7 separate regions of the Homo sapiens genome follow, and all the other regions are linked to region 6. The links are contacts of gene promoters, found by promoter capture Hi-C in blood cells and fetal thymus (Javierre and others, 2016). All regions are on one chromosome and are shown on one strand. The core of a region is centred on a gene start or on the middle of the fragment in contact, and the rest is flanking DNA. Distances in the headings are between cores, read along the strand shown.

What was found. Contacts are between HindIII fragments. The CHiCAGO score rates a contact against its expected background, and 5 or more counts as called.
Region 1: a fragment that was not itself captured here is called in contact with the fragment with the promoter of SMARCC2 in region 6 in 2 of 17 cell types (fetal thymus and endothelial precursors); the score reaches 5.1 in fetal thymus.
Region 2: a contact is called between a fragment that was not itself captured here and the fragment with the promoter of SMARCC2 in region 6, in 8 of 17 cell types (total CD8 T cells, naive CD4 T cells, total CD4 T cells and 5 more). The highest score is 7.1, in total CD8 T cells.
Region 3: a contact is called between a fragment that was not itself captured here and the fragment with the promoter of SMARCC2 in region 6, in 2 of 17 cell types (total CD8 T cells and naive CD4 T cells). The highest score is 6.7, in total CD8 T cells.
Region 4: a contact is called between a fragment that was not itself captured here and the fragment with the promoter of SMARCC2 in region 6, in 2 of 17 cell types (total CD8 T cells and naive CD8 T cells). The highest score is 5.2, in total CD8 T cells.
Region 5: a contact is called between a fragment that was not itself captured here and the fragment with the promoter of SMARCC2 in region 6, in 2 of 17 cell types (erythroblasts and activated CD4 T cells). The highest score is 5.5, in erythroblasts.
Region 7: a fragment that was not itself captured here is called in contact with the fragment with the promoter of SMARCC2 in region 6 in 1 of 17 cell types (naive CD8 T cells); the score reaches 6.0 in naive CD8 T cells.

What each region holds. Positions count from the first base shown.
Region 1 is chr12:56,328,416-56,331,115 of GRCh38, reverse strand. PAN2 (poly(A) specific ribonuclease subunit PAN2) reads left to right here. Exons shown (of 26, transcript NM_014871.6): 3 at 2,475-2,644. Among named protein-coding and RNA genes, the nearest start is that of PAN2, 4.2 kb to the left of the region's middle. The HindIII fragment of the contact is 3,073 bases long and covers 1-2,700 here.
Region 2 is chr12:56,055,272-56,057,971 of GRCh38, reverse strand. No RefSeq gene overlaps it. Among named protein-coding and RNA genes, the nearest start is that of RPS26, 15 kb to the right of the region's middle. The HindIII fragment of the contact is 258 bases long and covers 1,278-1,535 here.
Region 3 is chr12:55,988,640-55,991,339 of GRCh38, reverse strand. It overlaps RAB5B (RAB5B, member RAS oncogene family), which reads right to left. Exons shown (of 6, transcript NM_002868.4): 3 at 1,242-1,393; 4 at 536-658. Among named protein-coding and RNA genes, the nearest start is that of SUOX, 7.3 kb to the left of the region's middle. The HindIII fragment of the contact is 2,234 bases long and covers 196-2,429 here.
Region 4 is chr12:56,032,904-56,035,603 of GRCh38, reverse strand. It overlaps IKZF4 (IKAROS family zinc finger 4), which reads right to left. Exons shown (of 8, transcript NM_022465.4): 7 at 2,283-2,414; 8 at 1-1,033. The coding sequence ends at 273. Among named protein-coding and RNA genes, the nearest start is that of RPS26, 7.7 kb to the left of the region's middle. The HindIII fragment of the contact is 3,063 bases long and covers 1-2,700 here.
Region 5 is chr12:56,425,568-56,428,267 of GRCh38, reverse strand. TIMELESS (timeless circadian regulator) reads left to right here. Exons shown (of 29, transcript NM_003920.5): 13 at 1-32. Among named protein-coding and RNA genes, the nearest start is that of TIMELESS, 23 kb to the left of the region's middle. The HindIII fragment of the contact is 2,921 bases long and covers 1-2,700 here.
Region 6 is chr12:56,188,050-56,190,749 of GRCh38, reverse strand. It overlaps SMARCC2 (SWI/SNF related BAF chromatin remodeling complex subunit C2), which reads left to right and starts at 1,267. Exons shown (of 29, transcript NM_001330288.2): 1 at 1,267-1,399. The coding sequence starts at 1,289. It overlaps TRS-CGA4-1 (tRNA-Ser (anticodon CGA) 4-1), which reads right to left and starts at 386; the gene lies at 305-386. LOC107984468 (a long non-coding RNA gene) reads right to left here and starts at 58. Exons shown (of 2, transcript XR_007063330.1): 1 at 1-58. RefSeq lists an enhancer at 621-720 and silencers at 961-1,240, 1,311-1,530. The HindIII fragment of the contact is 5,408 bases long and covers 1-2,700 here.
Region 7 is chr12:56,009,685-56,012,384 of GRCh38, reverse strand. It overlaps LOC105369781 (a long non-coding RNA gene), which reads left to right. Exons shown (of 3, transcript NR_135023.1): 2 at 707-846; 3 at 2,114-2,293. It also overlaps a transcript of IKZF4 not described here. Among named protein-coding and RNA genes, the nearest start is that of IKZF4, 10 kb to the left of the region's middle. The HindIII fragment of the contact is 1,691 bases long and covers 482-2,172 here.

The sequences.
Region 1 (2,700 bases), core at 102-2,601, 140 kb before region 6:
TGTTAAGAAAAATGCTGGCTGGGCATGGTGACTCACACCTGTAATCCCAGCACTTTGGGAGGCCGAAGCAGGCGGATCACCTGAGGTCAGGAATTCAAGACCAACCTGGCCAACATGGTGAAACCCCCGTCTCTACTGAAAATATAAAAATTAGCTGGGTGTGGTGGCAGGTTCCTATAATCCCAGCTACTTGGGAGGCTGAAGCAGGAGAATTGCTTGAACCTGGGAGGCAGAGGTTGCAGTGAGCTGAGATCACACCACTGCACTCCTGCCTGGGTGACAGGGCAAGACTCCGTCTCAAAAAAAAGAAAAAGAAAAATACAATGAGGCCAGGCACAGTGGCACCTGTAATCCCGGCACTTTGATAAGCCAAGGTGGGAGGGTTGCTTGAGCCTAAGAGTTCAATACCAGTCTGGGCAACATAGCAAGACCCCATCTCTATTAAAAGAAAAATACAGGCCGGGCGCGGTGGCTCACGCCTGTAATCCCAGCACTTTGGGAGGCCGAGGCGGGCGGATCACGAGGTCAGGAGATCGAGACCATCCCGGCTAAAACGGTGAAACCCCGTCTCTACTAAAAATACAAAAAATTAGCCGGGCGTAGTGGCGGGCGCCTGTAGTCCCAGCTACTTGGGAGGCTGAGGCAGGAGAATGGCGTGAACCCGGGAGGCGGAGCTTGCAGTGAGCCGAGATCCCGCCACTGCACTCCAGCCTGGGCGACAGAGCGAGACTCCGTCTCAAAAAAAAAAAAAAAAAAAAAAAAGAAAAATACAGTTGAGTAAGGGGGTTGAGGTAATGAAGGGTGGGAAATGTTGCTATTTTGTTTGGTTTTGTAGTGTTTTGTTTTAATTTTAATCTTTTTTCCTAATGGCTCTTTTAGAAACAATGTTGCTACTTTAAATAGTTGGTCAGGAGTTCTCTCTGATAAAGTAACATTTGAATAGAGACTTGGATGCAGCACCAAAAAGGGGAACAAAGAGGCAGAGCTCCATGCCTCTAACTTATCCTTGTGCCTCTCCTTTACTATTCTAGGCCCTCTAGAAGGGAGGGAAGGAGCCATGTAGATATCTGGGGAAGGAACATTCTAGAGAACTTCATATGCTGTGTTAAAAGAGCTTGGACCTTGGACTTGAACCTTCAGGCCACTGAAGGGCTTTTTTTTTTTTTTTTTTTTAGGTGGAATCTCACTCTGTTGCCCAGGTTGGAGTGAAGTGGTGCCATCTCAGCTCACTGCAACCTCTGCCTCCCAGGTTAAAGTAATCCTCCTGCCTCAGCCTCCTGAGTAGCTGGGACTACAGGTGTGTGCCACCATGCTCAGCTAATTTTTGTATTTTTAGTAGAGATGACGTTTCACCATGTTGGCCAGGCTGGTGTCAAACTCCTGGCCTCAAGTGATCCACCTGCCTTGGCCTCCCAAAGTGCTGGGATTACAGTGTGAGCCACAGCACCCAGCCTCAGATTTGGGAAATATTTAGGAAGCAAAATAGGCCAGGTGCGGTGACTGATGCCTGTAATCCTAGAATTTTGGGAGGCCGAGGCAGGTGGATCACCTGAGGTCAGGAGTTCGAAACCAGCCTGGCCAACATGGTGAAACCCCCTTTCTACTAAAAATACAAAAAATTAGCTAGGTGTGGTGGTGCATGCCTGTAATCCTGGCTACTTGGGAGGCAGGAGAATTGCTTGAACCTGGGAGGCAGAGGTTGCAGTGAGCTGAGATCGTGCCATTGCACTCCAGCCTGGGCAACAAGAGTGAAACTCCATCTCAAAAAATAAATACATAAATAAAAATTTTAAAAAATCCTTGGTTATCTAGTGGTTAGGAAAAAAATACATAGGACTTGACTGTCAGATATATGGCTTGGTCAACTAGGTAGATCTTGGTACCATAGAGAATACAGTAAGAAAAATAGAAATAAAAATGGTGAATTTAATTTAGGATGTCATGAGTTTGAGGTTATGATGGGATGTTTAAGGAGGTTTAGTAGTTACCATCATCTTCTTGGTATCCATGTGGGATTGGTTCCAAGATCTAAAGATACCAGATACCAAAATTCAAGGATGCCTAAATCCGTTATAGAAAATGATATAGTATTTGCATATAACCTTATGCACATCCTCCCAGATGTGAAACATAAGAAAGCCAGCTGGCCAGTAGAGAATTGGACCATGTCCCTGACCTTCTATATACTGTTCTAACCAAGTGAGCCATTACCTATTCAGCAGGGTCATTGTGAGGACAAAATGAGGTAGAGTTTACCAAAATGCTGTGTAACACATTAAACAAACATAAGACAGTATTATCAGTGTCTTTATCACTAAGATTGACTGGTTCCTAGCCTTTTGCCCCAGTTGCTCCTAGTCACAAAGGCCAAGCAAGAAAGGATCCAAGCTGAGCCATGTTCAGTCCCTGACCTGGCCGTAGGGTGGCCCTTGCCCCTCCACTCTAAGTGTCTCTGTTGTCTTTGTCCTCTATAGGGCCATGCCACTTCATTTTTTGGCCCAGCCTTGGAGCGCTACTCATCCTTTCAAGTCAATGGCAGTGATGATATTCGGCAGATCCAGAGCCTGGAGAATGGTATCCTTTTTCTCACCAAGAACAACCTCAAGTATATGGCCCGTGGGGGCCTCATTATATTTGATTACCTGTAAGTGGCTTCTCAGCTCTGGACTAGGAACGAGGATGCCTCATAGGGTGGGAAGG
Region 2 (2,700 bases), core at 157-2,656, 130 kb after region 6:
AGCCAGGCGTGGCAGAGGGCACCTGTAGTCCCAGCTACTTGGGAGGCTGAAGCAGGAGAATGGCATGAACCTGGGAGGCGGAGCTTGCAGTGAGCCGAGGTGGCGCCACTACACTCCAGCCTGGGTGACAGAGCCAGACTCCGTCTCAAAAAAAAAAAAAAAAAAAAAAAAAGAAAGAGAGAAAGAAAGAGGGTCTTGCTATGTTGCCCAGGCTGATCTCAAACTCCTGTCCTCAAGTAATCCTCTGCCTCGGCCTCCCAAAGTGTTGGGATTACAGGCATGAGCCACCTGGCCTGCATCTGATTTATCTTTGAAACATCCAGGGACTAGTAAAATTGGTGCACCCAGACCAATTTTTTTTTTTTTTTTGAGACAGAATTTTGCACTTGTTGCCCAGGCTGGAGTGCAATGGCGCGATCTTGGCTCACTGCAACCTCAGCCAAGGAATTCGGGCAGCCTCTAGAAGCTGAAAAGGGAAGGAAATAGATTCTCCCCTAGGGCGTCCAGAAGGAACCCATCTTCACCAACACCTTGTAGTCCTGTAAGGCCCGTTTCAGATTCTGACCTCTAGAACTATAAGATAATAAAACTGGCCGGGCACGGTGGCTTACGCCTGTAATCCCAGCACTTTGGGAGGCCGAGGCGGGTGGATCACGAGGTCAAGAGATCGAGGCCATCCTGGACAACATGGTGAAACCCGTCTGTACTTAAAAAATACAAAAAATTAGCCGGGTGTGGTGGTGTGCACCTGTAATCCCAGCTACTTGGGAGGCTGAGGCAGGAGAATCACTTGAACCCGGGAGGCGGAGGTTGCAGTGAGCTGAGATCACGCCATTGCACTCCAGCCTGGGCAAAAAGAGCAAAACTCTGTCTCAAAAAAATAAAACTAAAATAAATAATAATAATAATAAAACTGAGTTTGTGGTAATTTGTTACAGCACCGAGAGGAAACAAATACAACTGCCTGCCACCTGCATCCTTCTCATGCGCCCCCATACATGCATGCATGCATGCATTCATTCATTCAGTGTTATGTGTTGCTCCAAACACTGAGGACACAGGAGAACAAGAGACAGGTTTCTGCCTTCAAGGGGCTTACATTCTAGAGAGTGCAGACAGCCAATGAACAACTCAGGAAATAACTTCAGTAGTAAGTGGCATGAAGAAAACGAAACAAGATACTGGGAAAGTGACCACTGCTGCTCACCTGGAGGAGTTAATTTAGACAGAGTGGTCAAGAAGGGGGGTCTCTGAGGCAGTGTCATTTGCACTAAGCTTTAAATAAGAAGGAGCCAGTTTTGTGTTGACCTGAAAGAAGAGCATTGCTGGCAGAGCAACTAGTGAGGGGATAAGGTCTGAAGGAAGAATGAGCTTGGAGGGTCTGAGGAACAGAAAGGAGGCCAGTGTGGTGGAACAGAAAGAATCATGGGGAGGCCATGGCAGAGGAGGTGGTTAGAGAGGAAGGGAGGGGCCAGACCATGCAGGGGCATATATACCACAGTAAGGAGTGTACATTTTAATTACAGAGAGAAGCTTAAGAATTTCAGTGGGGGAGTGATGAGATTGTATTTTTTTTTTTTTTTTGAGACAGAGTCTTGCTCTGTCGCCCAGGCTGGAGTACAGTGGCTTGATCTTGGCTCACTGCAATCTCCGCCTCCTGGGTTCAAGCAATTCTCTTGTCTCAGCATCCTAAGTAGCTGGGATTACAGACAAGTGCCACCACACCTGGCTAATTTTTGTATTTTTAGTAGAGACGGGGTTTCACCATGTTGTCCAGGATGGTCTCGATCTCTTGACCTCATAATCCACCGCACTAGTCTTGGCCTCCCAAAGTGTTTGGATTACAGGCATAAGCCACTGCACCTGGCCGTTTTTTTTTTTTTGTTTTTTTTTTTGTTGTTGTTTTGTTTTTTTTTTGAGATGGAGTCTAGCTCTGTTGCCCAGGCTGGAGGGCGGTGGTGTGATCTCGGCTCACCACAACCTCCGCCTCCCAGGTTCAAGCGATTTTCCTGCCTCAGCCTCCTGAGTAGCTGGGACTACAGGCATGTGCCACCACACCTGACTAATTTTGTATTTTTAGTAGAGATGGGGTTTCACTATGTTGGCCAGGCTGGTCTCAAACTCCTGACCTCATGATCTACTGCCTTGGCCTCCCAAAGTTCTGGGATTACAGGCGTGAGGCCCCACTCCCAGCCCTTTTTTTTTTTCTTTTTTAAGAGTCAGGATCTTGCTCTGTTGCCCAGACTGGAGTGCAGTGGCACTATCTTGGCTCACTGCAGCCTCGACCTCCCAGGCTCAAGGGATCCTCCCACCTCAGCCTCCCCAATAGCTGAGACTACAGTCATACACCACCACACCTGGCTAATTTAAAAAATTTTTTTTGTAGAGACGAGGTTTCACCATGTTGATCAGACTGGTCTGGGACTCCTGGGCTTAAGGGATCCTCCTGCAGCACTGGCATTACAGGTGTGAGCCACTGCACCTGGCAGTGGTTTGCTTTTTAAAATAATCAGCCTTCGCTGGGTGTGGTGGCTCATGCCTGTAATCCCAGCACTTTGGGAGGCAGAGGCGGATGGATCACTTGAGGTCAGGAGTTCAAGACCAGCCTGGCCAACATGGTGAGACACCCATCTCTGCTAAAAAAAAAAAAAAAAAAAAAAAAAAAAAAAATCAGCTGGGTGTGGTGGCACATGCCTATAA
Region 3 (2,700 bases), core at 63-2,562, 200 kb after region 6:
TAGTGCTCAGAATGTAGGGTGGGAACGAGTATTGCCTTTCCACTCCCATGCAGCACAACAGCTAGGCAAAATCCTAGGTTCCCTCCCCTTAATTAATACCCCTTTGAGCCAGCTAGCCTAGATGCATAATTTAATGACAACTCCCTCAAGATGACCCCATGTCCACTCAGTCCAACACACAAATGTCAGAAAGCTTAATTATAGGGGAGAGGGTAAGTTAGTTGGGGGCTTTTGGGTTGTGACACTTGAATAGTCCCTTACCACAAATTTAATTGCTCCCTCCTTCCTGTTTTCACACTGGTACCCCCACAGCTGGTACCTCCCTAACCCTCTGCTCTGGAGTTTTCTCCTGACTCCTTTGAAAATCTCCTGGCTGTCATTAGGGTCACAGTGTTGCTGTATTTAACTTGGTGTAGAACTGGGGAATGAGACAATGAATGTCCTCTGTTGACGTTTTCAGAGAGGGCTGGTTTGGAAAAAAAGAGGTCCCAGGAACAGAGGAAGTGTTAGAGAGGAACTCCACGGGCCACCTTACTTCATACTCCACCATACGTTTGTTGGCCAGGTCAGCTTTGTTCCCTGCCAGGGCAATAACGATGCTAGGACTGGCCTGTCGCTGTAGTTCCTTCACCCATGTCTTTGCTCGGGCAAAGGTTTCCTAGGAAAACATGAAGAGAATGAGTAGGCTGGAATGACTGCCAATCCATATCCATCACCTTTTAAAATGAGTCTCAAAATTCACCTCTTCTAGGTGGTCTTCCCTCAGTGAAACCACAGGTCTCTGATAATTCATTATCTGTCTTCTTAGCACTTGGAAGCATAATTTGTACTCTTATTTGCTATTTCAAGAACCCGTTTTCTGCCCCCTTACCCCCTGCCCCAAACTAACTCCTCTAAATATAAGCAAGGACAGTCTTTTTTCTTTTTTTTTTGAGGCGGAGTTTTGCTCTGTCGCCGAGGCTAGAGTGCAGTGGCTCGATCTCGGCTCACTGCAACCTCCGCCTCCTGGGTTCAAGCGATTCTCCTGCCTCAGCCTCCCGAGTAGCTGGGACTACAGGCGCGCACCACCACGCCCAACTAATTTTTGTAATTTTAGTAGAGACGGGGTTTCACCATGTTGGCCAGGATGGTCTCAATCTCTTGACCTCATGATCCTCCCGCCTTGGCATCCTAAAGTGTTGGGATTATAGGCGTAAGCCACCATGTCCAGCCAACAAGGACAGTCTTCTTAGCTCACTTACCTGATTAGTAATGTCGTAAACCACGATTGCAGCTTGGGCACCCCTGTAGTACATGGGGGCTAAGCTGTGATATCGCTCCTGCCCAGCTGTGTCCCAGATCTCAAACTTCACTGTTGTGTCATCTAGACAAACGGACTGGGTGAGGAAGGCCGCTATGGATGAGAGAATGGAGGGGAAGATGCTGTAAGTGGGAGGATGAATGGGAACATCCCTCCCCCCCTTCAAAATGTAACTGCCCTACACTAAGACCAGTCACCACCCAGGATAGTCAGCTACAGGAAAAGGTTTTGAGTTCTCCTTACATGTAAGTCTTGAAACCAGGATTAAGACTGCCCTTGGCTAAGTCCTTCCTGCCAGAAATGTCACTAGCTAAGGAATGGGGGTACATCATAAACTAAGAGGGACAGAAGAACTGGCACTTATACGAGTCATCCTTCTTCTAACCAAAATAGGAGAATAACAAATGACAGAGAAAATAGCTTCAGATAAAAGTCACATCAAGAATTAATTAGAAGATTGGGCTGGGCACGGTAGCTCACGCCTGTAATCCCAGCACTTTGGGAGGTGGGGGCTGAGGCAGGTGGATCACCTGAGGTCAGGAGTTCGAGACCAGTCTGGCCAACACGGCAAAACCCGTCTCTACTAAAAATACAAAAATTAGCCAGGCGTGGTGGTGGACACCTGTAATCACAGCTACTCGGGAGGCTGAGGCTGGAGAATCCCTTGAACTTGGGAGGTGGAGGTTGCAGTGAGCCAAGATGGCGCCACTGCACTTCAGCCTGGGCAACAAGAGCGGAACTCCGTCTCAAAAAACAAACAAACAAACGCAAACAAACAAAAGAATTAATTAGAGGATTGGCTGGGCGCAGTGGCTCATGCCTGTAATCCCAGCACTTTGGGAGGCCAAGGCAGGTGGATGGCTTGAGGTCAGGAGTTCGAGACCAGCCTGGCCAACATAGTGAAACCCCGCCTCTACTAAAAACACAAAAGTTAACCAGGCATGGTGATGGACGCCTGTAATTCCAGCTACTTGGGAGGCTGAGGCAGCAGAAGTGCTTGAACTGGGGAAGCGGAAGTTGCAATGGGCAACCACTGCACCACTGCACTCCAGCCTGGGCAACAGGGTGAGACTCAGTATCCAAAAAAAAAAAAAAAAAAAAAAAGAATTAATTAGAAGATTTTAAAGCTTGATGGCAAGTCCCATCATTATCAATATTATTTGGCTGTTACTTTTTCATATAATCTGCTGCAGGTCCAGGAATACATTTCCAAGATGACTAATAAAAAGGGGAAAGAGGCCAGGCACGGTGGCTCATGCTTGTAATCCCAGCACTTTGGGAGGCCGAGGCGGGTGGATCACTTGAAGTCAGGAGTTTGAGACCAGCCTGGCCAACACGGTGAAACCCTGTCTCTATACAAATACAAAAATTAGCCGGGCATGGTGGTATGTGCCTGTAAT
Region 4 (2,700 bases), core at 133-2,632, 160 kb after region 6:
AAATAAATCAACTAATTAATAAATAACTCAGTATGCTGGGATGAGAGAAGATAAAAAGGAAAAACATAAGCAAAAGATCTGTTTCATCACAATGCTTACATCGGTCAGGATAGAGGAAGAGAATAGGTGAGGAGGGGTCAGGGTCAGGTGTGAGGTCAGGTGGCCAGTAGTGAGGGCTACAAAGCAAAACTCCTTGGGAAATGGTGGGGACAGGGATCAATGCCTGTAGTCAGGGCAGTGGAGTGGTGGACTGAGGAGAGAGGGAGAGGTTGCTAGCCCACCTTATGCTCCCCCCGGACAATGTGGGAAGAGAATTCGTACCGGTCCTGGCTGTGATAACCACAGATGTTGCACTCAAAAGGGTCTCTGAAGCCATGGCAGCCCATGTGGATAGTGAACATGACGTGGTCCAGGAAGAGGATACGGCAGTGCTCACACTTGAAGGCCTTCACAGGCTCACCACTCTCGCCCACCACCCGAAGCACTTCCTTGGAGGGGCCTGGGGTGCCCCGCAATAACCCCTCCTGTGGCTTGGGGTCCTCTTTGGCGTAGGCAGGACTGTGCCGGCCCACCACAATGGTGGGAGGTGGCTGGGGTGGGGGACCCTGAGGGAGGGATACCACCCCCGCAACCCGATCTTCGTGGTTGCTTTCTGTGTCTGTGGAGTCCTGGCAGCCATTGCTGGGGGATGCCCCAGGGTCAGTCAGGGGGCCTCGGGGCCGGTAGAGGAGGGGACCTCCATCAGCCAGGTCCTCAGGTCCCTCACCTGCTTCTCGGGATCCTGGAAGCTCCAGTCGACCAGGGAGGGGCTGCATCTGGGTGTAGACAGAGCTGATGACAGGCGTGAGTTCTGAGATGCAATTGGTGGGTGGAAGGCGGAGGGGACGCAGATGCTCTGCACCCACAAAGGCCAGGGAACTTCCAAAGCCAGGCTCTAGGCTGTGGTGTGCCACCAACTCCACATCCTTTTCATAGCCACCCGAGTTCACATCATAGGGGAGGTCTGAGAGGCTGAAGCGCATCTGCTTTTCGCCTGTGGAGAACAGGAACTCAGCAGGGCTGGGTTTGGAGAATTCCTACACTCTCCTCAGGATTACTTCTTTGTTTTTTTACCTGTGGGGCTGGGTGTAACATTATTTACTACGTGGCATTTACTTTCGCAGGGTCAGGTCCTTTGTGGGACTGCTCCCTGACTCTAGGCTATAATCTTAGAGAAGGACTCAATCCCAGCCCATTGATTTTTAATACTTCATTTTATTACTCTCCATAAAGCTCCAGGTCCTTAGAGAGCTCATGACTAGTGCTGGGGATAGGGGGAACCACATACTTATTTCCTCTCTCTGACTCTCTAAGGGCCCACACAGACTGAAGTTCTTGTTATTCTTAAAAACTGAGATAGCCCGGGCCGGGCGCGGTGGCTCACGCCTGTAATCCCAGCACTTTGGGAGGCTGAGGCGGGCAGATCATGAGGTCAGGAGATTAAGACCATCCTGGCTAACACGGTGAAACCCCGTCTCTACTAAAAATACAAAAAAAATTAGCCGGGCATGGTGGCAGGCGTCTGTAGTCCCAGCTACTCGGGAGGCTGAGGCAGGAGAATGGCGTGAACCTGGGAGACAGAGGTTGCAGTGAGCCGAGATCGTGCCACTGCATTCTAGCCTGGGCGACAGAGCAAGACTCCGTCTCAAAAACAAACAAACAAACAAAAAACTGAGACAGCCCGATGCCTCGACCCTGTCCCTTACAACCACCACGAGAGTCTTCAGTGCCAACCCTTCTCCACTCTCTTTGAGTACATCCTCCCTCTTTACTTTCCTCCTGTCCTGAGGATAGATTTTCAGTATCAGAGGCCACCAGCCTGCTTTCTTTCTTTCCTTTTTTCTTTTTTCTTTTGAGACGGAGTCTTGCTCTGTTGCCCAGGATGGATGGAGTGCAGTGGCGCGATCTCCGCTCACTGCAAGCTCCGCCTCCCAGGTTCACACCATTCTCCTGCTTCAGCCTCCCGAGTAGCTGGGACTACAGGTGCCCGCCACCACGCCCGGCTAATTTTTTGTATTTTTAGTAGAGAGGGGGTTTCACTGTGTTAACCGGGATGGTCTTGATCTTCTGACCTCTTGATCTGCCCACCTTGGCCTCCCAAAGTGCTGGGATTACAGACGTGAGCCACTGCACCCAGCCCACCAGACTGCTTTCTTTCCCCAAACCGAATCTCCAGACCACACAGCTCAGATTTATTTGAGCTGTGGCTTAAAGCTGATACGTCTTTCCAACTGGATTCTTACCTACAAACTTCTGGGGTGTGGAACGCTTGCGTTTGGTGAGGCTATTGGCCAGACGATCGATGAAAGTTGGCCGCTCAGAGGATGAGTGCAGCATGGAGTCTGGCACCATCTCCAGGTCACGTATTTCGTCACCTAGTGGGAAGAAGGTGGAGACAGTAGTAGCAGTTGAGTAGGGGTAGCATTGGCCCCACAGCCTTTGCCTGGAGAAAACCAGCAGGTCAGTAGCCAAGGAAGGACATACCAGTTGCCTGGGAAACTGGGCTCTGTTTACCCTACCTAAAGCTCACTCCAATAAAATTTCAGATCATTTGGGGACAATCATACACATCTGGCCCTTGGTTTTATACTTCTTGTGTTCTCTCTCTCCCATTAGGCCAAGGATATAGACCCAAACTTCCCCTACCTGTCGATCTCCCTA
Region 5 (2,700 bases), core at 31-2,530, 240 kb before region 6:
TCTGTCGGAGCCGTGGGAACCTGGTGGTGCAGGTACTGGGCAGCCCCACAATGTAGAAAGAGCTGTAAGGGAGAGTCAAGGAAGGGGGGCTCTTTCTTCTCACAGTTTGTACAGCTTAAGTTCATCTGTTAAACGTGCTCTGAACTACGACAGCAAGAGGTTTGTGGGTGTTGGCCAGTGTGAGTCTACTACAGTTTCCTTCTCCCATTAGAATAATCTCTGATCTGCCATAAATATTTTAGTTCAGTCAGGAAACATTTATTGAACACCTACCACATGCCAAGTACAAAAACCCTGGGGATTCATAATTTTAGAGTCTAATAATTATGCTATAGCATTTTCTGGTTATACCTTGAAAGCATTGTGGTGAGGTGGAAAGAGCCTTAAATTGCGGCCAGGCATGGTGGCGCACACCTGTAATCCCCGCGCTTGAGGAGGCCAAGGTGGGCAGATTACTTGAGGTCAGGGGTTCAAGACCAGCCTGGCCAACATGGTGAAACCCCGTCTCTACTAAAAATACAAAAATTAGCCAGGCGTGTTGATGCACACCTGTAATCCCAGCTACTCAGAAGGCTGAGACAGAATCGCTTGAATCCAGGAGGTGGAGATTGCAGTGAGCCAAGATCATGTCACTGCACTCCAGACTGGGTGACACAGTGAGACTCTGTCTCAACAGCAACACAAAGAGAGCCTTAAATTGAACTTTAGAAAGTCTGGAATCTAGTCCTGTATTGGTTATTATTGGAATAAGCTCAAGCTGGTCGTGTCGGTCTCCAGATCCATAAAGTTGGGATTGTGACAGTTGTCCATGAACCCAAAGTGGAATCAGTGAAAAGCCTAGGACAGGCTGGGCACAGTGGCTCATGCCTGTAATCCCAGCACTTTGGGAGGCCACAGTGGGTGGATCATTTGAGGCCAGGAGTTTGAGACCAGCCTGGGCAACATGACAAAACTCCTTCTCTACTAAAAATACAAAAATTAGCTGGGTGTGATGGCACGCACCTGTAGTCCCAGCTATTTGGGAAGCTGAGGCACGAGAATTGCTTGAACCCATGAGGCAGAGGTTGCAGTAGGCCAAGATCATGCCACTGCACTCCAGTCTGGGCCACAGAGCAAGACTCTGTCTCAACAAAAAACAAAAACAATTCACCAGCATGGTGGCACATACCTGTAGTCCCAGCTGCTCAGGAGGCTGAAGCACGAGGATCACTGGAACTTAGGAGTTTGAGGATGCAGTGAGCTGTGATTGAGACATTGCACTCCAGTCTGGGTGAGACCAAGACCCTATCTCTGAAAAATAAAATTATTGGTTCACATTAAAATAAAAAAAACCCTGGGACAAAATGCAAACTCCAAGGAATTTGTATCCTGGAAACACAGAGACTTTGCTTTGTATAAACAGATTTTGGGCCAGGCGCGGTGGCTCATGCCTGTAATCCCAGCACTTTGGGAGGCTGAGGCGGGCAGATCACTTGAGGTCAGGAGTTCACGACCAGCCTGGCCAACATGGTGAAACCCTGTCTCTACTAAAAATACAAAAATTAGCCAGGCATGGTCATGCGCACCTGTAATCCCAGCTTCTTGGGAGGCTGAAGTGGGAGAATCACTTGAACCCGGGAGGCGGAGGTTGCAGTGAGCCAAGATCATGCCATTGCACTCCAGCCTGGGCAACAGAGCAAGACTCCGTCTCAAAAAACAAACAAACAAACAAAAATTAGCCTGGCGTGGTGGCACACACCTGTAATCCCAGGTACTTGGGAGGCTGAGGCAGGAGAATCGCTTGAACCCAGGTGGCAGAGGTTGCAGTGAGCCGAGATCACGCCATTGCACTCCAGCCTGGGCAACAAGAGTGAAATTCTGTCTTAAAAAAAAAAAAAAAAAAGATTTTGTACCAGAACCTTCCTATAACTCTAGTTGCTACAGCTTAAAATTCTGTCATAACTGGACTTGAAAGATGCAGTAGTACCAACGAGACTTTGCTAAAGGGTATTTTTGCACTCAGAGCTCTGTGGTATTATCTGTAATACTAGGTACTATCATTTATTGAGCATTTACTGTGTGTCAGACACTGTGCTGACGTTTTCATGTAATCCTCACAGTAGCGCATGTGCCCAAAGTGGTTAAGCAACTTGTCCAAAGTCTTGTTAGTAATACTAATTCAATACTCAAATCCAGATCTGCTGGACTCCATGCTCCTAAGTTTTGGTGTGTTTGATTGTAAGTTCTTTAATGGAGCATGACCTTCAGGGGCCTCTCAGTTCATCCTGTTTGACTTTTCAGTACCCACACCAAAGACTGGTTCACAGCCCTGACTTGGGAGAAGCAGGATTTGGGTATTGACTCACTCTCCTGCTTTTCTTTTTTTTAATTATTTATTTATTTATTTATTTTTTTAAGCAGGGTCTCGCTCTGTTACCTAAGCTGGAGTGCAGTGGCTGAATCTCAGCTCACTGCAACCTCTCCTTCCCGTGCCCAAGCGATTCTTCTGCCTCGGCCTCCCAAGTAGCTGGGACTACAGGTACACACCACCATGCCTGGCTAATTTTTGTATTTTTTGTAGACACAGGGTCTCGCTGTGTTGCCCAGGCTGGTCTTGAACTCCTGACCTCAAGCGATCCACCTGCCTAGGCTTCCCAAAGTGTTGGGACTACAGGTGTGAGCCACTGCGCCTGGCTGTCCTACTTTTCAGGAGAAAAAATT
Region 6 (2,700 bases), core at 18-2,517:
AAAGTCGACGCCTGTAATCCCAGCATTTTGGGAGGCCGAGGCGGGCAGATAACCTGAGGTCAGGAGTTTGAGACCAGCCTGGCCAATATGGTGAACCTGTCTCTACTAAAAATACAAAAATTAGCCAGGTATGGTGACGCATGCCTGTGGTCCCAGCTACTCGGGAAGCTAAGGCAGGAGAATTGCTTGAACCCGGGAAGCGGAGGTTGCGGTGAGCCGAGATCGCGCCACTGCACTCCAGCCTGAGCAACAGAGCGAGACTCCCTTTTAATAATAAGAAGAAGAAAGAAAAAAAAAAAAAACCCGTCACGAACAGGATTCGAACCTGTGCGGGGAAACCCCATTGGATTTCGAGTCCAACGCCTTAACCACTCGGCCACCGTGACTTCCAAAACCGCGCTTTATCGCGCGCTTACAGAAGGGGTCCGCACTGCAATCCGGGAATGCGTGCGGGAACCGGAAGCAGGGTACCGGCCCCGACACACACACACCTGAGGACTCCCCACCCCTCGGTTCCTTACCTCCTATCTACGCCACCCAAAGAAAAAGAGTCGGATGGACTGGGTGACCCAGGGAGGGAGGGTCTCCTGCCTAGCGAAGAGTCGGGGTCTCGAGTAGGAGCTCACACCTACTTAGGAGGCGACAGCGAGGCCTGCGGAGGAAGCAGTTGAGGGAAGGCACTGGGCCGCCAGGGTGGCGACTAGGGGACATTTGGGTTAACAAGTGAGGGGAGTGCTGGGTGGACAAGGCGCGAGGAGTGAGGGAGACTCTGAAAAGTTTAAATGGGGAGCTGCTGTGAATGGATGGAAGGAAGGAACTTCTTGGGGAAAGGGGTTTGGGGTTTTGGGGGACGAGGGGCTTCGTCGGGTTAGGAATGCGCAAGGTGAGGACCACTCGGGTCTACGGGTTGGGGCTGCTCCAGCGACTGGCGGCCGCCTGGAGTGGGATAGCGAGGTGACACTCCCGAGCTGAGGCAAAAAGAGGGAAAGGGCTTCGCGTCTGGTAAGAGCGATCTCAGGAGAATGGCGCCCCCTCCAGGAAGCGTCCTTCTCCCCGGAGGCTCCCGCCTCCGCTGCCGGGGAGGCCGCCAGGGTCGGCCCGCGCCTGGAGCTCCGCCGCCGCGCCCGGCCTGCCGGCAGGGGGCGCAGCGCGGACCGGGGCCGGCCCAGGCGGCGGGAGGCGGCGGCCGCGGCGGCGGGAGGCGGCGGGAGGCGGGCGGAGGAGGAGGCGGAGGAGGCGGGAGCTGAGCTGAGTGGGGCGGGCGGCGGCGGGGCCCGAGCCGGAGAAGATGGCGGTGCGGAAGAAGGACGGCGGCCCCAACGTGAAGTACTACGAGGCCGCGGACACCGTGACCCAGTTCGACAACGTGCGGCTGTGGCTCGGCAAGAACTACAAGAAGGTACGCGGGCCGGGCCGGGCCGCGCGGGGACCGGGGGCGGGACAAAGGGACCGCGGCCCTGCAGCCCCGGGATCCTGCCTACCCTCCAGGCGCCCCAGCCCCTCCCCCGCGGCCTCCCAAGCAGCCCCCCGCGCGCCCTCCTGCGCTCCCGCGCCCCTCCCCCAGCCTCCCTCTCCCCGCACCCCCAGCCTCTGAGCCCAGCCCCCGCCCCCACTGCTGCGCCCTCTGCCCCTTGTTTTTCTCTACTGCCCGGCGGGCCCCGGTGCCATTAGCCCACCTTCCCCTCAGCCATCGCCCTCCTGGCTTTTCTGGGAGAGGCGGCCGGCCGGGTGTGGACCGGGTGCCCAATGGGCTCCCCCGCAACCCGGAGCGTGCCCGCCAGAGCTCCCCACGGAGCCAGGTACCAGCGGGGCTGAGGCCTCTCCGGTGCTTTGTGTATGTTCAGAGAGAGAGAATGGAAAGCAGGAGGGTAAACAGTCACAGAGCAAGCCGTTGGCTGCTCATCAGCCTGAAAAAGGTCTCCACCCAGGGATCACCTGTCTCCGCCGCTCATCCCCCACCTTCATCTAAGGGGCAACAGAATCTCTCAGGGAGCCGGGGTATAGGAGTTCCTGGGTAGCGGCCCCTTCCGAAACCTTTCCTCGATTTTACAATGAAGTCACCTTGCAACCTAGCTTTGCAGTACCCTGGGTTTGGGGTCGAGAGGTTAGGGTGAGCTTCCTATCTCTAGCCCCTCACACCCAAACCCCATAACTGGAGATCATAAGGTGGTGAACAAAAGGTTCAAGAATCCTTACCTGTCTTTTCTACCAAACCTCTTCCTGGTGTCGTCTTTGTCTCTAGGCCTGGTTTTCTCTGGAAATGGTCTGCCTCTCTTTTTCTCACTACCCTCAGAGAGGGATTCTCTTTATGGCTTTCTTTCAGCTCCCCAGTTCTTCCTGCCGGCTTTGCAGCTCGTCAGAAGTGTGCTTAGTGGCTTAGGAGAACTTCCTACTGATGCTGGTTGTGAGCCTGGCCCTGCCCTTGGGGTCTCTCTGGGTGTGAGAATCCTGACAAATAGCTGCTATTTCTATGGCATGTCTCTACGCCTGTGAGAGGCTCTTATTCCCAGGCTTCTACCTTTGACCTTTTGCAGGGAGATCAGGCTAGGGGCTTAGCCTCCGGCCTTGGGGGAATTGACAGTTGTGACCTGGTTCAGCTTCCATGCTCTTAGCTCTTTGTCATTTACCTTTCCCTTCACAGATCTATCTCTTTTCACCTCTCACTGAGAGGCACTGTCTTCTTTGTGATGAGTGGGGAGA
Region 7 (2,700 bases), core at 78-2,577, 180 kb after region 6:
GAGAATCGCTTGAACCCAGGAGGCGGAGGTTGCAGTGAGCCGAGATCGGGCCATTGCACTCCAGACTGGGCAACAAGAACAAAACTCCGTCTCAAAAAAAAAAAAAAAAAAAGTCATTTAACACATGCTTAATGTGGCCTAGGGGGTAAAAGGTCATGAGAAGAATATTGTTGGGAAAGATGGTGAAGGTAGAGAGAATGGCAAGGATCCATACCATGTTTTTGTTATTATTCCCAAACTATAACAGGCAGAAGTAGAAAAATTTTCTCCACTTTCCCTTAGTACCTGGGTTCTGCGGTGGAGAGCAGTAGTTATTAACAAGACAGAACTTCCCATGTGCCTTGGGTATGAGCCATTCAGGTGCTACAAGTAGAGCAAACCCACAGCATCATCCTCTACTGTCTATGCCTTCCTGAACTGAGTGAAATCTGAGCAAAAATATGTTGAAATCACATAGCTGGCTCTGCTCTCTATCAAAGCTTTGCATAATTGAGGAGGGAGAAGACGCAAAGGGGCCAGGGAAAGGTATGGAATTAGCCACTGTCTGCAAGCCCCTTTCCAGGAAAAAGACCTAGACATCAAGCAATTTGCAGCTCTGAAATTATCTTTAGGGTCAACCTAGTGCTCTCTGAAGGAAACCCACCAACCTTAGCTCAGCTCATGTGTTTGTCTTTACAGTGGAAAGGTCTGACTCATTTTTCACCAGGCTGTAGATGGTGACCTTCTGTCTACATATAATACAGTTGAAGACAGCTCAGCTTCATTATCCAAGTGCTTGGGGAGCAGTGCAGAGGGGATAAATTCCCAGGTCATCCTAGGAATGGCCAGTCTCTAAAATAAAAAGGGGTAAGAGCTGAAAACACAACACCTGGGCAGGGGGAAAATATCACCTCATTGTCTCCTTTTAGATCTCAGATGGATGCATCTTTTCTCTTGTTCTTTGCGCTTCTCTGTCCTCCCCATGTAGACTGCAGAAGAGAGAGAAGGCTAAGGTTTATGAGTGGGAGAAGAAACGATCCTATCCCTCCCATGTCTCATTTCAGGACATAAGGAACTAAGGAAAAGGGCCAAACTAAACACTTTAAATCACTAGATATGATACATAGGAGATGATACTTTTTGGGGTTTTTGGGTGTACCCCCAAGTATAGCTCTCTGTTTATAGAAAGGCCTCACAAAATCACTGCTGTTCAGTGGTATGTTTGGCAGGGGTGGAGAAAGTAGAGCAGGGAAATTCAATTTGAGTTTTATAATAATCAGTTTTAAAGCCAAAGATGCCCAAAACAGGGTTAGCACTCTCAAGTGAAGTTTGAAATTACAGGGAAGTCTCAGTGAACTATTCTGACTAGGGTACAGTAGCAAAAAAAATGTAGAAGAGACAGGAACAATTGCCTTTGATTGCAATTGTGCCCAAAAGTCCCTAATACATGCTGATCAAAAAAGTTCACTGTTGTTTGGGCCAGAAAGATGTTTTCAGGCTTCTCTGCTAATAGTCTTGCTCTGATAATCCAATTTGGTAAGACTCTCTTCTTCATGTGGAGGGTCTAGGGCAGGGGTACTCCAGGAACTGAGAAATCCTGGAGCTGAAATGGAGTTGAGAGATTATCTACAATTTCCTAGTTTTTAACAGAAGAAACTAAGCCCAGAGTCATCAATCTCATTAACAACAGAATTAGGACATGTAGAGTCCAAGTTACCATTAGAAGATTCTTTCCACTGGAACACTATATTAAATCTTGCCCCAGTTGGAAGATTTGGGCCACCCTGCTTGCCTTCTTTCTTGGGTTATTAAATGAATGGTTTTTGGGTCTGCGTCTTGCTGACCTAAATCCTTGAACTGGAAACACAGGCTTATGGATGGGAGGATAAATAATCCTCTTCCTCCTATGTCTCTTTTCAGAGATAATGGACCTGAGGAAAACACCAAACTAGATGGTCATTAAGTCTCTAAAGTAGAAACGGCCTCTTAGCTTGAGGACTACCCCAGCATAGGTATTGCATCAGAGCCTACAATGTGGATCCTCCCCGCAGCTGGACCAGGTCATTCATATCAGCACTACCCTTTCTTAGATGCCTTTGTCTGATAAACTTTGAACCTATCTCTCTGTTTCCAGAACAGAGTCCATAACTCTTCTAAGAAGAGGAAGCAAATCAAAGCCTGGAATTCAAAGCTTTCTTCAGCAGAGTCAACAGACCAATAAAGAAAGGGAGTCCCTCTGCCTGTGGCATTGTCCACACTCACAGGGTCCCACACTCTTATTTGTTCCTACAGAGTAAAACGAGGCTAGAAATACCTATCTTTCTTTTTCTTTGGTGTGTGTGTGTGTGGCGAGAGAGAGAGAGAGACAGAGAGAGAGATGGCCAGTTGGGGAAAAAAAATAATTCCTTTGTGGATACTACTGTGTGTGGGGGGGCAGGGGGTACGGTGAAAGGTGGGATAAGTTTCTCCCATGCTGGGAAGTTCAAGCTGCAGATTTCAAACTAAGAGGACATAAAGAGACTTTCAGTTGCATTTTCACTGGAAAAAAGTCAGGACTTATTTCTGAGCCAAGTCCTGAAATATGCCTTACCCTTAACCTACTCAGAGGAAGGGGATTGCCCAGAAGCTACAATTCAACTAACTAACTGCACTCAGTGGGCAACAAAGACATTATATTTTGTGTTTGAGACATCAACTTCTATTGACTAGGGCAAGGTATAA